Regions from separate parts of the Homo sapiens genome. Here region 1 is linked to region 2. Evidence: promoter capture Hi-C in 16 types of primary human blood cells and fetal thymus (Javierre and others, 2016). All regions are on one chromosome and are shown on one strand. Each heading gives the region's core, a stretch centred on a gene start or on the middle of the fragment in contact. The rest is flanking DNA. Distances are from core to core; before and after follow the strand shown.

The links. The method cuts DNA at HindIII sites, captures the fragments that hold promoters and counts their contacts. A CHiCAGO score of 5 or more calls a contact.
Region 1: a contact is called between a fragment that was not itself captured here and the fragment with the promoter of VSIG8 in region 2, in 2 of 17 cell types (naive CD4 T cells and total CD8 T cells). The highest score is 5.8, in naive CD4 T cells.

The regions. Positions count from the first base shown.
Region 1 is chr1:159,777,121-159,779,820 of GRCh38, forward strand. LOC101928264 (a long non-coding RNA gene) reads right to left here and starts at 2,261. Exons shown (of 3, transcript XR_922193.3): 1 at 2,106-2,261; 2 at 1,295-1,541. The HindIII fragment of the contact is 665 bases long and covers 1,075-1,739 here.
Region 2 is chr1:159,861,298-159,863,997 of GRCh38, forward strand. It overlaps VSIG8 (V-set and immunoglobulin domain containing 8), which reads right to left and starts at 1,360. Exons shown (of 7, transcript NM_001013661.1): 1 at 1,176-1,360. The coding sequence starts at 1,224. It overlaps LOC107985216 (a long non-coding RNA gene), which reads left to right. Exons shown (of 2, transcript XR_001738263.2): 2 at 1-2,700. RefSeq lists enhancers at 1-775, 776-1,688. The HindIII fragment of the contact is 16,901 bases long and covers 1-2,700 here.

The sequences.
Region 1 (2,700 bases), core at 157-2,656, 84 kb before region 2:
ACTCCAATTGCACCCCTAATTGCCACTAGCATCAAGCCAAACAGGGGACTGGGGCCTCAATATGAACAAGAACTAAGTCAAAACATTCTTATCAGCTGGAAAAAGGGAAGCTGAGATGCCCTAAAAAATGTTCTGTTAAGCCTTATTTTTTACTTTTAAGTTCAGGGGTACATGTGAAGAATGTGCAGGTTTGTTACATACGTAAAAGTGTGCCATGGTGGTTTGCTGCACAGATCATCCCATCACCTAGGTTTTAAGCCCAGCATCCATTAGCTATTCTTCCTGATGTTCTCCCTCCCCAAGTCCCCACCCCAGACAGGCCCCAGCATTTGTTGTTCCCCATCCCCATGTGTCCATGTGTTCTCATCATTCAGCTCCCACTTGTAAGTAAGAATATGCAGTGTTTGGTTTTCTGTTCCTGTGTTAGTTTGCTGAGAATAATGGCTTCCAGTTCCATCCATGTCCCTGCAAGGGAATGATCTCATTGCTTTTTATGGCTGTATCATATTCCATGGTGTATATGTACCACATTTTCTTTATCACTGATGGACATTTAGGTTGATTCCATGTCTTTGCTATTGCGAATGTGCTGCAATAAGCATATGGTGCATGTATCTTTATAAAAGAATGACTTGTATTCCTTTGGGTATATACCCAGTAATGGGATTGCTGGGTCTGCTGAGCTTTTCATTGGACAGTAGACAAAATGGAAAGAAAAATCCCTCTCTTCATAAGACATTTCTGGTAGTTCCAATTCAAGCTTATCTTTCCCCCACTGACTTCTTTTGCACTTGTTTTTACTGCACAATTAGCTTTTTAATATGTATTATCTGATTGTCTTTGATGAGCAATTTAGTACTTTATTATATGTCCTGAGAATAATTACATCAGAGTCTAAATCCCCCGCAAGGATGTTGTAAATTCCTTGAAGTCAGGGAAATTTCTTAAGCTTACTACTCAGCCCACCATCAGTGTCAATAGATTGTTCTCCAGGAACACGGCCCCTCCAAAGCACTCAAATACACAAGCCATCACACACATGCACACTACAAGAGCAGTGCTCTATAAAGAACAAGCTTTATTTGTCCCATTTCACAAAAATAGTAATTAGACATAGCCAAGATCATACTGACACAGCCATTCTTTATTTAAAAGCACAGTCAAGTAAAAAATACACTTCAAAGAGATACTACCCAATACTCAACACAGTCCTCAAACTTGTGCATTTAAAAAGAATTACAAATACACATTGCCACATGGTCCGACAGACTCACATTCACTCCTAGAAATGTACCTTCACGGTCTTGCCAATGCATTCTTCTTATTAATTTCCCATTCATTTGTTTACTTAACATTTTGAGCCCTGTGGCTCAGGCTCCATATTAGATGTGTGGAATTCAAAAACGGAACAACGCATTCTTGCCTCCTCTGCAAACAAGTATCCTCAATCCAATGACATTACTATACTGAGAAGACATATTTATACAAGGTGAGATGGGAGAAAAAAAAAAAGCCTAAATCTTCCTGAGGGTCAGGTAACTCTGTACAGAGGAGAGAATAAAAGAAGGTCAGTATCATGTATGTGGGCAGACAAGAAGGTGGTTAGTTGCAGAAGTCCTGTTAATTGCAGAAGTCTGAGCCAGGAAACCATCAGAGAGGGTTTTTCCTTACAGTTTGAGGCCCCTTGGGCCCAAGACAAAACATCATATGGCACCCTTGACATATGGCACCCTTGACAAAGCTTAAGGCAGGGACCCTGGGCCCTTTCCACTCTGGGTCTGCTGGAAGGGAAGGGCAGAGCTTCCTAAAAAGGGAGCCAACTGGCCTCTCCACATGGAGGCCCTAATGGTTTGATGGATGCACTGCTAGCCCTGCAGAAACCCACAAGAGGGAGAGAATCATTGGTAGGGGACTCAGGGAAGAGGAAGATCTCGGTCTCCCAAAAAAATTTTCTCTTTCTGGAGAATATGGGCTTCGAGCTGGATATCAAGGAGGCAAAGAAGGAGCACATAGGAGGGTAGGGAGTGAAGTGGAAACTTCCCTGGTGAGTAGGGGAAGCAAAGAAAGGAGAACAAGGCAAAGGGACTAAGAAAAGATTAACTTACAAGAACAAATGCTAGAGTCTTGTCTCCAGAGGTAGTGCAACCAGAAATCCTGAAGAGCAGTTGAATTGAGAAGAGAAGTGGGAGGTCAGGGGGTTGGGGGAAGAGGTGACTGGTGGCTGAGAGGCCATGGCTGGGAAAGAGAGAAAGGAATAAACTGGGGAGGGCTGGTAACCTTGATAGGAATTTATGTAGGAAATGAGAGTGCAAACAGGAAGGGCTTAATGAGGGCTGTGATTGTCTGGAAGGAGAAAAAGGGGAGATTTGGCACCTCCTGGAACCTGGGGAAAGTAATTGTCTGGGTAAATGGTAAGTGTATTTCCCACAGGGTCAGAGCAGGCTTTGATCTTTAGGAGAAGACAAATTGCTTTCCATCTTGCTGAAGCCAAAGGCTTAAATGGTCAGACGTGTGTCATAGGTGGGTGCAAAGGGAAGGAAATATAATACATCCTCATGGCCAAGTGCCCTGGGCTTGGATCACTGTGTCCTTGGCCAAGTTAACCAACTTCTTTAAGCTTCCAATGATTCATGTACAAAAAAAGATACAAAAATACCTTTCACATGTGGTTCTTCCAGAAAGCGCTTGGCACAGGGCCTG
Region 2 (2,700 bases), core at 110-2,609:
TCTGCTTGCAAATTCTTTCTGAATCTTCAAGGTGCTTCCAGAACTCCTGATCTTCCCTCTGGAGGTAAGGGAGGGGAGAAAAGGCGGCTCCAGCTGAGGGTATTGATGCGTTAATGCAGCCAGTGCTGAGTTGTCCTCACACACCCATTGACACACCACACAGGGGGAAGTCCGGGTCCCCACAGCACAGCTGGAGCCTCCCGAGTGGACTCTGCCAGCCCTGCTCTCATCAGACAGAGAAGGGCTGCAGCTATCCTGCCGGAAATGTCATCATTCCCATGCAGGTGCACGCACCCACACACTCACATACACATTCACGCTCACACAAAGGCTGAAAATGTCACCCCGCCTTCCCAAATTCCTCCTTCATGCCCCTTCATCCCAAATCCAGACTGCAAGAGGGACTCGGAGCCCTTTCCAGTGATGTTGGCATAGAATGCCCCTTGGTGGAACTTGCCCCAACCTGGGCAGGAAGCCACAATGTCCAAACTTGAGCCCTGCCCTGTGGACCTGTCCTGGTGGGGTGAGAAGTCTCTGGAGTTGCCATCCCCACCACCCTCAGGCCTCATCCTAGAGTGGGGCACTGCCCTGTCATAGCACAGGGGGCCCAAGGCTGAGGTCTCAGGCCTGAGCTGTCACTGGCCATGATGGAAGAAACCACTCAGACTTACACCAGACTTAGTCTCTTGCCCTTTCAAGGCAAGTGACTTCCCTGCCCCTTGGCCCTGGCCTTGGGAGAGAAGGAGTAGCGTTGGGAATAGCACACAGTCTGATGAAAATTGATCCTTCCCAAGCTCCTCCTGAGCCCTCACCCAATGCCCGTGCTTACCCCTCTCCTACCCCACCTCCAGCTCCTGCAGAGCAATCAATCCCTCTCCTCCTAGTCACGGCATGAGCTTGCAGGGCACCTGCACACATGTGTGAGCCCGACAGGGGACATATAAAGATCCACTCAAAGACCTCTGCACTACAGACACACACCCTGAACATCAGGCACAGGGTCTCCTGGGGAAAGGTCCCCTGGTAATACCCACACCCGGCTGCAGCAGGGCAAGGGTGGGCAGCACCCTGCCAGGCAACTCAGGCAGCCCCAGGCTCCACTGTGAGCCCTTGCTGCCCCTTTCCTTCCCACCTAGCCTCATGCTGGCTACCCTGCCCCCTGCCCAGCCCCGTACCTGGGCTCAGGCACACGAGTAGAAGGTGGAATGCTCCTCCAACTCTCATGTCTCTAGGCTCGGTGTTTCCTCCGTCTGGGCTGGGTATCCCGTGGGGTCGTAGTGGTGGGTGTGAGGGGGTAGGTGGAGGGAGGGGGAGCTGAGGGCCCAGACACTGCCTGGGGTGGCAGGAAGGTGCAATGAGTGCCCAGCTGGGGAGCAGCTGGAGTTATTTCTATGGGAGGGAGGGGGCCTGGTCCCCGCCTTGGGGAGGAGTCCCAGGAACCCTAATTAGCAGGGTGACAGGGTGGCCTACCTGGGCATTACCCAGCCCTCACCCAAGCTCTTCCCTGTCCTAAGAGTGGCACAGGACAGCCAGCGGGACTTGTAATTAGGCACCTGTTAAACTTCACTTCCTCCTGGCCACATCCTCAGGGTGACAACAGTCACCTCATTTACAGCTTCCAAGGGCTCCCCTCACCACTCATTTGCTGCCTCCTTCCCTGGGGGAAGTGGGGAAGAGGAAGGAGAAGCCAGGCTTGGGAGAAAGAGTGGCCAGGACCTGAAGAGTTAATCCTGATCCCAGGGCATAGGGTTCCCCAGGAGTGTCCAGCCCACCTTCCCCCAGGCTTCAGGCCTTTCAAAGGGACTCAGGCCTCCTGAGCTGAAAGAGGAGAGAAGGGGTGTGTGCAGGAACAGAGTCTCCTCCTGGCTGTCCCCTCTGGAACTGTCCTCCACACCCATACTCGACTCAAGGCCATCCCCAAGTGTAGGGGACCCCTGGGAGCAGGGGTGCTATGGGGGGTCCAGGGTGTGTGCTAGGAGTAAGGTGACTGATGGGCTAGTGAGGGAGTGTTGGAGAGAACAGCGCCAAGAGGACCAGGGAAGGGGGTGCCTGTGTAAGCGTGTGCACCCCTCAGCAATGTCTGTGGGAGGGAGGCAGGATGTCTGTGTCAGGGTGTCTCTGTGAGGATGGCTAAGCCCCTCTGAGTGAACTTCTTGAGGGATCGCTTGGTGTCCTGGCTTCTCTGCCCAGAAAGAGTAGCCAGGTCTTGAGGGTTAATGCAGTCCCAGTATTAACTGGGTCCTTGAGACCAAGGACCCTCATAACCTGGACTGGTCATCGGGCTGACTAAACCAGCACAGTTCTGGGTAAGTTCGTGCTGGGGTGGGGAGGGTCCTGGTAGGCATGGGGAGCAAGTGAAGGGCCACCCCTTGTTGGCTTGTCTAAGGGGGACAGAATGGGCATGTGCCTTGTTGGACTCCATGGTGGGAGTCAGGACATGAGTGACCCCATTCAATAGCTCAACTCCCTCAAAGGAGTCAGGGACTGCCCCCATCCCTACCATGGGGCACAGAAAGGGCAGAGGAGGAAGAGTGTTAGGGAGAGTTATGGGGCTCAGGGATGCTGCCAGGGCCCACCCCTCTGGGGAAAAATAAGTCAGAACATTAAGGAAACACAAGGAGTCCACGCGTCTCTGCATTCCAAGCCGTTGCACCTGAACTCCCAACAATAACAGGGCGCTCTGAGACCTACCAGATGTAC